Regions from separate parts of the Homo sapiens genome. Here region 2 is linked to region 1. Evidence: promoter capture Hi-C in 16 types of primary human blood cells and fetal thymus (Javierre and others, 2016). All regions are on one chromosome and are shown on one strand. Each heading gives the region's core, a stretch centred on a gene start or on the middle of the fragment in contact. The rest is flanking DNA. Distances are from core to core; before and after follow the strand shown. Region 1 holds the start of PPIF (peptidylprolyl isomerase F). Region 2 holds the start of SH2D4B (SH2 domain containing 4B).

The links. Contacts are between HindIII fragments. The CHiCAGO score rates a contact against its expected background, and 5 or more counts as called.
Region 2: a contact is called between the fragment with the promoter of SH2D4B here and the fragment with the promoter of PPIF in region 1, in 6 of 17 cell types (non-activated CD4 T cells, activated CD4 T cells, total CD4 T cells and 3 more). The highest score is 11.6, in non-activated CD4 T cells.

What each region holds. Positions count from the first base shown.
Region 1 is chr10:79,344,655-79,349,257 of GRCh38, reverse strand. It overlaps PPIF (peptidylprolyl isomerase F), which reads right to left and starts at 1,789. Exons shown (of 6, transcript NM_005729.4): 1 at 1,515-1,789; 2 at 152-182. The coding sequence starts at 1,709. RefSeq lists an enhancer at 1-41, cis regulatory regions at 808-1,308, 991-1,491, 1,020-1,520, 1,523-2,045, 1,513-2,045 and 5 more and silencers at 1,356-1,585, 1,606-2,015. The HindIII fragment of the contact is 8,142 bases long and covers 1-2,164 here.
Region 2 is chr10:80,536,327-80,540,779 of GRCh38, reverse strand. SH2D4B (SH2 domain containing 4B) reads right to left here and starts at 2,878. Exons shown (of 8, transcript NM_001388272.1): 1 at 2,265-2,878. The coding sequence starts at 2,448. RefSeq lists an enhancer at 1,035-1,174. The HindIII fragment of the contact is 17,935 bases long and covers 1-4,453 here.

The DNA.
Region 1 (4,603 bases), core at 540-3,039:
GCCCCAGAGCACCCAATGGCTGAGCCACACATGGAGCTCCCATCTGTCAGGGGTCTCTGAGCCCCGACTCTTCTCATCACGCCACCCACCTTGCCCTGCCTGGCCCCCTTCCCTCTAGACCCATCTCAGAAGGCCCCAGGCCCTGTCTTACCAGCTGTCTTTGGGACGACATCTGCCTTCAGCTGTTGGGGGAGAAGAAGGACAAAAGAGGATGGTCATTGGAGAGGCAGGTGAAGGTGGGTGTCTCTCAGCACCCACCCACCCCCACAGTGGCCAAGGAGGCTAAGGAAGAAGCACGTGGACATTCCATTCCCATTATTGCCAACCCCCATGGGAGGCAGCTCTATCATTTCTGGGAGCCGTTTCCTGAACCCAAGGCTGGAGGAGGTGGCCTTGGTTTCCTAATCTGTCAGAAGAGATGACAATGCTATCTTGGCCTACTTCTGTGGACACAGCTGGCAGTGCTCCCACAGCTGGGCCCAAAGCATCAGAAATTCAGGGACAAGAGAGTGTGTCTAAGGTAGAAGCCAGACCAGCTCCTCCATTCGGGGTTGGGAAACTGAGGCCCAGGGAGAGGCATGAGGGTGTGGGGAGGGAAGGCTGAAGCCCCATCCCAGCCAGCCTCTACCCTCGAAGCTGCAAGACCCACCCTGGAACCAAATGGAAGCAGGAAGGGTGTCCCTATTTTCCAGAAGAAACTGAGAATGAAGAAGAAATACTAAGGGCTCCCTGGGATACGGGCCAGTCAACACAAACAGACCCCTGCTGTCAATGTGTGGCCGACCTGAAGGCTCCACTAGGGCTTTCCCTCTAAAGCTACCCTGGTGACTGTTTCTTACTTTGCTTTAGAAAAGACCCAAAAACAGAGTTAGGGGAGGTGCTCAGTGTGGCCCCCAAGGACAGTGGCAGGGGTTGAGGCGCCGGGCACACTGTCTCTGAGTGTGTCCCGACTCGCAGGAGGGGCATTCTGGGGTCCACCAGGTGGCCGGGGCCTGAGGCCTACTGGGCCCGCACTACTGCTGGAAACCACCTCTCGCTCCATTTCCCAGCACCCCCAGTGTGAGCCCGACCGCAGGGGCGGGGCCGGAGCCAGGAAGCGCTCCGTGTTGTGCAAGGGCCGCCACGTGAGCACCCGCTGGGCCACGACGCTCACCCCAAGACCCCCGACACCCACCTCGGAGCTCCGGATCTAGGCTCAGCCCCAGAAGGCTCCTGGAGCCCCTCCCTCGTGCCCGGGCCGGCCCAGAGGTGCTGAGCCCTCCCTCTCTGCGATCTGACCTTGAGCTTTCTCCTCCACACGTGCCCTCCCTCCCGTCTCCCCCGCTCCAGTGCTCCGAGGGAGGCCGGAAGAAATCATTCTGACGCCCATTCTCAGAAATGGGGAAACTGAGGCCCAGAGCTCGGCATGGGGAGGCCCAAGGTCACCCAGCGCGCCCGGCACCGCGCCGCCCGGGGCCCAGGGCTCTCCCCGGGCCCGTGTCCCGCGCCCAGGCCGGCCCTGCGAGCGGTCTCACCTCCAGCACCACGCGGCCGAGCGGCTTCCCGTTGGCGTCCACGTCCAGGTACACGAGCGGGTTCCCGGAGGAGGAGGAAGAGGACGGGTCGCCGGAGCCCTTGCTGCAGGCGCGGGCCGCGGGGAGGCGCAGCGGCACGGAGCGCGGGACGGAGAGCAGGCCGAGCCAGCGGGAGCCGCAGCGCAGCGCCAGCATCGCGGGCGCGGGTCGGGCGGGACACGGGCGGGGAGAACACAGAACTCAAACTGACGTCGCGCGCGCCCAGAAGGCCGAGTCCCGCGCAGCCGCGCGCCGCAGCCTTTATTGGCTTGCCCAGGTTCCCGGCCCTGCCCCCGTCCCGCCTCCTCCAGGCCTGTCCGTGGACTACCCCTGCCGGCCGCAGCGGGCAGCGCAGCCAGCCGGTGGGGCCGCGGAGCGTGAAGTGCTTTGAAACACTCCCGCCTCCAGGCCCAGAGACCCGGAGAACAGACACCTGGCAAAAGGTTGCTGGTTCCATGTTTATTAAGGTACCAGCAGATTTTTTTAAAAAAAGAAAAACTGCTAAAACGTAATTAATTCCAAAATATGAGCATCTATACGTTGCAATTTGAATATAATAGCAAAAGTCTACCTTTGAGCCCTTTGCAGGTAAGGCTCAGGCCAAATAAGCTTCCCTGCTGCCCTAGGTCCTGCAGTCTGAGAGGGTTAGAGAAAGGTGAGATGAGAGGCGGGATTAGTGAGCTAGAGGCGCAAGAGGGAGGAGATAAGCTGAGACACCTCCCATGATGCCCCCTAGCCTGCTTGTCCCGGCCTGGGCCTGTCTCTAGTTGTTTCTGGGGACCAGACCTGCTTCTAGCAAGACTGAAAACGCAGCCTGGGCTCATCATGCTCCTTTCAGGCCCCCAGCCCTCCCCAGGACTGGGTCTGATCCCTCCTCCTAGGACCCACACTGACAGCCCCGGGGCAGACTGCCAGCTGCCCCCTCCCATCAGCATGCACCCTGGGAGGGGACTCAGTGGGGAGACCCACAGCAGGAGCATTTAAACCCCACGTGCTGAAAGTGGGCTTCCCAGCAGCCAGAGCCACCCTCACTGCAAGGTGGTGGGAGGTCTGCAATAAATGGATGCCACGCAGGGACCTGAGAGAGCATCTGGCCCAACACTTGTACTGTCCCCAGGGGAAGCTGAGGCCTGGACACAGGAAGGCACTGGCTAGGGCTAGGGAGCCCTGGAGTATTGCTACCAGCTTGCACCAGTGCTCCAGGCCTCTCTGGGCCTCAGTTTCCCATCTGGAGGGTAAGGGTGCGATCATGCTCCTCATCCTGCTTTTTTCTCGTGTCTGTTCTTAGGATAAAATGAACGAGAGAGACATGGATTTGTCAACTAAGTACTGTGCCTGTGGGCATCTGTGATGGACAGAGTCTGGACTGTCTTTCTCACAGTTTGGGATTCAGAGAGCTGCGGTCTCAGTTAGAGGCCTGAGGGGTCAGAGAAAGGGGTGGGGCTGAGCCTTGGAGGCAGGTGGGCAGGAGTAGGGACCAGCTCTGGACTGACCTGCCCCAGATCCTGAATGGGCTCATGGGAACAGGTCAGGCAGCAAAATGCCAGCCAAGCAAATTCATGAGGTCAGAGCAGTGCCCTAGCTTCATAAGAATGCTAGCTTGGCCTCTGGAAGTTTGGCTAGCTTGGCTTCTGGAAGTTCATAGCCCCCTTCTCCGATTCCTGGCCTAGGAGGGGCCTAGGCACCCAGTGAAGCCCAGGTGGGATGCATTCCAGGTCCCAGCCCAGAATGGGGCCTCACTCTGCCCTGGGGAGCAGCCCCTCCTTTCTTATGATTGTGCCCTGAGGTGAGCAGGCCTGAGTGGGGAGCCCACTTGAGCCCTCAGCACATGTCCCAGACCTTCCTCTACCAGTGCATCCTGTGGATTTGAGAGTGGAGGAATCACGCCATGTGCCTTGTCATGAAGCTTCCTTAAGGCCCCAGGCTTCCCTGCGGCCAGTTCCAGGCCCTGAGCTCACAGGACCTTCAGCCACAGCAGGTAGCTCAGCGTACCCTGTTGTTTCTCAAGCCTGCTCCTGGGGGGACTCAGTTTATGCCCCATCCTGATGAAGCATGAGCATCCCCACCCCAGGGGAGTGCTGCCTTCATTCACTTGACCACTTCAGTTCTCAGAACCCTTTCCCAGCTGTGAACTCTGCCTGAGAGACAGCTCTGTTTTGCAGATGGGGAAGCCAGGCCCCAGGGGCTGGGGAGTGAATTGCCCAAGGGCAGGCTGTTGGAACTGGGACCAGTCTGTCTGACTTCACAATCAGGGTTATTGCATGTCAAACCCTTCTCACTCTCACCACGAAGCTGGTCCTTGGGACAGGGTGGGGAGGCAAGAGAGATAAGCCTGGGCAGACAACACAGTAAGATAGAAACGGTGGAGTTGGCCAGGGGGCTATGGAGCTCAGGGACTAGGGAGATGGTTTTAATAGTGAGCATGAGCTGAAAGGCCTGTGGGGACCCAATCACAGAGGGCTCTGAAGGCCTGGCTGAGGTCTGACATTGTTGGATAGCACTGGGGAGCCATGAATAGTGCAAAGACTCCATGCTGAGGACTCTGGACTGGGAACCAGCTTCTTTCATTCATGTTACTCCTTCCACTCTCTTTGGAAAATCAAACGTCATCACTACCTCCTAAGCCAGAGAAAAGCCTACCTTCCCCAAAGGCTTAGCTATGATGTCATCCCTTCCTGTTCTGTTCTCAGTGGTATCAGGAAGAAGGATAGTCTATAGGCTAAGCCATGAGCTGAACACATGCCCAGCCCTTGAGGGCTCCGGGCCCAGGTGACATCAGGCAGGTGTTAGCACTCACCTGGCTCTGAGGCTATTTATAGACTGTGTTATCCTCAGAAACAGCAGTGTTTCTCTCCACTCAGCTCACATGGTTTTTTATCCAGGGTGCTGATGGGTTTTGTCACCTAGGGATCCTGTAACACCACCTCTAGGCCTCACAAAGCCAAAGAACAATCAGTTTGTGCTAAGCTCAGAATCTCATTCAGGGGTTGCAAACTCAGATGCCTGCGGGGGCCAGGCAGGTGATACACATGAGTGGTGCAAGCTGGTAA
Region 2 (4,453 bases), core at 1,629-4,128, 1.2 Mb before region 1:
CCCTATGATCCATCTACCCACCGTCTCCAGGACAAGCACTGCCCCATTCACTGAAATCAGCACATAGTAATGCTGGATAAGTGAATGAATTGGTGAATGAGTGAACAAGTGAATGTGTGCACAGCTCACTTGTTTAATTGGAGTTCCGAGTTTGGAAGTGAATGAACAGAAAAAAAATCAGTCACCAGACCCCAGATCCAAGTCATGAGATGTAGCAGCTGGATGACCTTGGATGTAGCGCATCACTTCTCTGAGCCTCACCTTCCTTATCTGCAATGAAATCAGGGAGCTTGCCCTGCCACCCCGCAGGGACACGGGAGCAGCAAGGGCTGGGTAGGCACCCAGTCAACGTAAAGCTCACAAGTTGTTGCCACCCTTCATCACGACCCCAGGACATGAAGCAGATACTGTATATCCTGGACCCTCCGGCCGAAAGCTCTTCCGGCTCCTGGGCAGGGCCAGCCCCCAGGCTCCCCAGTGGCATGCCCAGACAGTTCCAAAAGGCAGGACCGAAGCAAAGAGCCAGGATCCAAGCGGGATCCTGACCTGGGATACACACATTCCTCGGCGTGCTTTCCTGCTTTTCCATTCTTTATAAATCAGAAAATTAATTACCAGAAAAAGGATCTTCTGCACCAGAAACTCAAATGAGTTTAATGTATAATTTATACATGAAAATGTAGATGTCTATGTGTGACAAATCTCTGTATAAATATTTTTGCAGTTAAATTTTTAGGCATCTGTCTCCCTCCAAGAAGAGTCATCATGCAGGCATCATGAGTCCCCAGGGCTCAGGCCGGGTGGTGCTGGCAAGGTGGCTTGTCATTTCACCAGTTAGTGATGCAGCTGCCAGCGCAGCCCAGCCCGGAAGGCCCCAGCTTTGGCAGCAGCCACCTGCAGCCAAGTCACAGCTCTGCCCCAACCTCCCCGGCAGGGTCCTGCTGTGTCTTGTTCAAAACAAGGATTTAACACCATGTGCCACCTCTGTGCTGGGCCCAGGGGAGGAAGATAGAGTGGAGGAAGCCCTCACACACCAGTGCCTTTGAGCCCATCGGAGAGCCAGGCAAGCAGATGAGGAATGACAATGACAGGGTGGCAAATGCCAGGGCAGGCGTGGGTCCTACATGCCAGGCAGCCACAGAGGAGCAAGTACTGCCCTATGCAAGAGCATCCCTGAACACTCCAGGGCAGGGGGGCCACTCCTGATGGAGTCTGTCAGGTGGATGAAGGCAGAAGGACATTCCCAACGGTGAGAGCCACTCATGTGAAGACCAGAGACAAGAGCAAGCATGTCCAGATGATGTGGGTGTGGCCTGTGGCACCTGGTGGGGACTGGCCAGCAGTGAGCCTGGCATGGAGAAGAGCCAGATCACCAAGGGAGCTGTGTGCTCAGCCCTGAAACAGGACTTTGTTCTGGATTGAAAACTTCAAAGGGTGAAGGCACATAAGCCTTGCAAACTGTAAAGTGCATGCAGCATCCACAGAAACTACAATCCCTGGCAGGATTGAGTCCTGTGCCAAGCCAAGCCTCAGCAGCCTGCCAGTTTCTGGCCCAGGGGTCCTGGATGATTTCCTTCACCCACAGGTGTACCAGTCCATAGGATTGACTGGCACATGACTTTGCATACAAAACACCTGAAATGTAGGCTAGGCCCTTGCTTCTCATCTGCAGTTGCTACGACCATTTGGGGATGGTCATTCATTGTGTGGGACGTTCCCTGATGCCCTCTCTCCGGATGCCCAGTGGGGCTCCAGAGACAACCCACAGCATCCTCCTGCCGGAGGATCTGGAGGGAGAGGCACAGTCCACAGAAGGGGCCCTAGCCAAGAACTGGTGTGCCACGCATGCCAAGGAGAAAGGAACTGCATATCTACACCACACTCTGGCCCAGAACCAATGGCAAGGGTCACAAATATGCCGTCGTTCACCCTACCATTGCCAACCACGTCGGAGCACAATCTGAAGTCTCAATGGTGTCTTCCCAGAACTCGGGCCTTCCACAACAAGACAAAGCAAGTCCCAACTCCCCGACTCCAATAAGGGCCGCTGGACAGCCTCTGCAGCAGCCTCGAAGCCCTAAGGTCCTGGCCAAAAGGCAAAAGCACAGGCTCATGGGACCTGATGCCCACAAGACAAGGGTTTCAAGCCCCCAGCCCTCATCACCCCAGTGCCCATCTTGAAGAAGGGCACAGCCTGGCCCTGCTAATTTTTCTACCTCCTGGGGGACTGGTGGCCTACCTCTCTGTGACTCCCAGCCACGTACCTCGCTTGGTCTTTGGAGGCCTGAGACCCTCGTCCTGGGCCAGGGCCTCCCAAGTCTCCCGCTCCTTCCAGCGCCTCAGCTGCTCCTCCCGCATTTTGTAGAAGAGGATGTGCTTCTGCACATCGCTGAGCTCGGCAAGGAGCTCGGGGTCGATGTACATGTCGTGCAGGATCTGCTGCAGCATGATGCCACCTGGGATGCACGCACCAGAAGGGCAGCCAGCAGGGGAAGCAGGGCCAGGCAGAACGCCCGAGGGGCTGCTCTGCACTACGGACTGCTCAATCCGGGGCCACTCTCGGTGCCCCTTCTCTGTGCAGCATTGTCAGTTGGCCTCAGCTTGCAGCCAGCGACGAACTCATCTCCTCTACCCAGGACAGCAAAAGAGGCCAGGCAACAGGACCCAAAGGGGCAGGTGGGACTCTGCAAGGGGGAGCAACCACCAGGAGCAATCTAGTCCTTCTCCTGGGTCACCAAGCACGGCATCCCAGGAGAGCCCATGTCTTGGCATCACCTGGGGTTCTGAGACAATGGGAAGGGCCCAAGCCTCCAGCTCAGCCAGGAAATGCCCAGTCCCAGCCCTGCCTGGGCTGGTAGGTGTCGAGTGATCTGTTAGTGGAAGGTAACAATGACACCAGCTATATCAATGACACTGCCCCGGCCAGCTGGGAACTGATCTCTCCTCTGCAGATAAGAGGAGGAGAAGGAGGCAGACTTGCCTACTAAATTCCATGTCTTTTCAGCCAATTTCAAACACAGACCAGAGGAGCCTGCCAGAAGCTGCTGGGCCCCTCAGCCCTCTCAGCCCCTCTCTCTGCGGGTTCCTTCGCTGCCAACTTTCTTCCTTTCCAGAACATTTGGCATTCTGAGATGATGCGTTTAAAACTCTGCCTTGGGGGAGGAAAGATTTTTCCTCCTATCTGTGTTACAGCCAAGAAAGAAAACAAAATGGAATCAGTAGAGACAACTGGAGGGGATTTTATCTTGGAATTCCAGGACAGAAAGGAAGCAGACATCCTTTCCCTTTGGCCTATATATAATGAGATCCTGCAGCCATGCGTGGCTGACAGATAAACCCTCCAGGGGCCAGTTTTAATGGTCGTTGTTAATCTTGTTTGTTGCAGATGCCTGGAGTTGACCAAAAAGAAAGAAGATGAAACTGGCTCTTCTCTGTGCCCTGATCAGAAGCACACTGGAATGGCGGGATGTTGCCTTCTGCTGGGAGGGAAGCCACCCTCTCTTTGGTGTGTGAAGGTGGGTAGAAGCTGCCGTTGCTGAGATCTTTAGGGTGAAAGCTCACCCTAAATATGTGCTCAGAGCAAATCACAGATGCCTTCTTATTGGGACAAGGATATTGAAGCTCAGAGAAAGTAAGTGGCTTGCCTATGGCTTCCTAATGGACAAGTCACTGTATTGGGACTCCCCCGTTTTGAAATTTGACATCCACTAGCAACTATGAATCTGTTGATGGTTTGAAAACATAACCCAACCAAGGGAAAACAAACGAACCAACAGGATTTGGCACTGTGGCTTGGTTGGATTGGTGACCTTCCTGTCCCCTTCCTTGCCCATGAGGGTGGAAGGTGGATCAGGTACCCAAGAGTGATGGAAGAGGGGTGGAGAGTTGGCATTCTTCCCCCTCTGCAAGGTTAACACAACAGGAAGATGGACTAAGCAGATTCAGATGAGCTGTAAGCCCATAGGGTCAAAGCTCCTGCTCAGCTAGGCAATGTCCAGGTCACAGGAGTGGAGTCAGACGCCCCACCCCTCCCCACCCAGGTCCAGCTAGCTGGTCCCAGTGTGCCCAGACCTTCCTAGAGCCGCCACAGGACTCGCCTGTCCGCTGCAGAGCTGTGGCCCTGGACTCCCATCCACCCACCTCAGGGCTTGCACCGACTCCCCCACCGGGAGTCCTGGCTCCCCTCAGTTTCTGAGACCGGGGGTCTTCCCTAGCCTCTGCCCAGCTATTCTCTTTCTCCCCCTCGCCGTGGCTGGTGGGAGACCCCCGAGTCCAAAGAGGAGACAAGGGGAGGAAGGCCCCCAGGGTCTGGGCTCCTGCGGGCAGCTTCTTTTTGTCTTTCCCGGGCCGCCAGATACCTACGACCACAAGAGGGCACGGGGCAGGGACAACGCTGTAGGGAGCAGCAGGAATGGGCCGGCTGGAGGCGGGCGAGAACGGTGATGGTGCCACC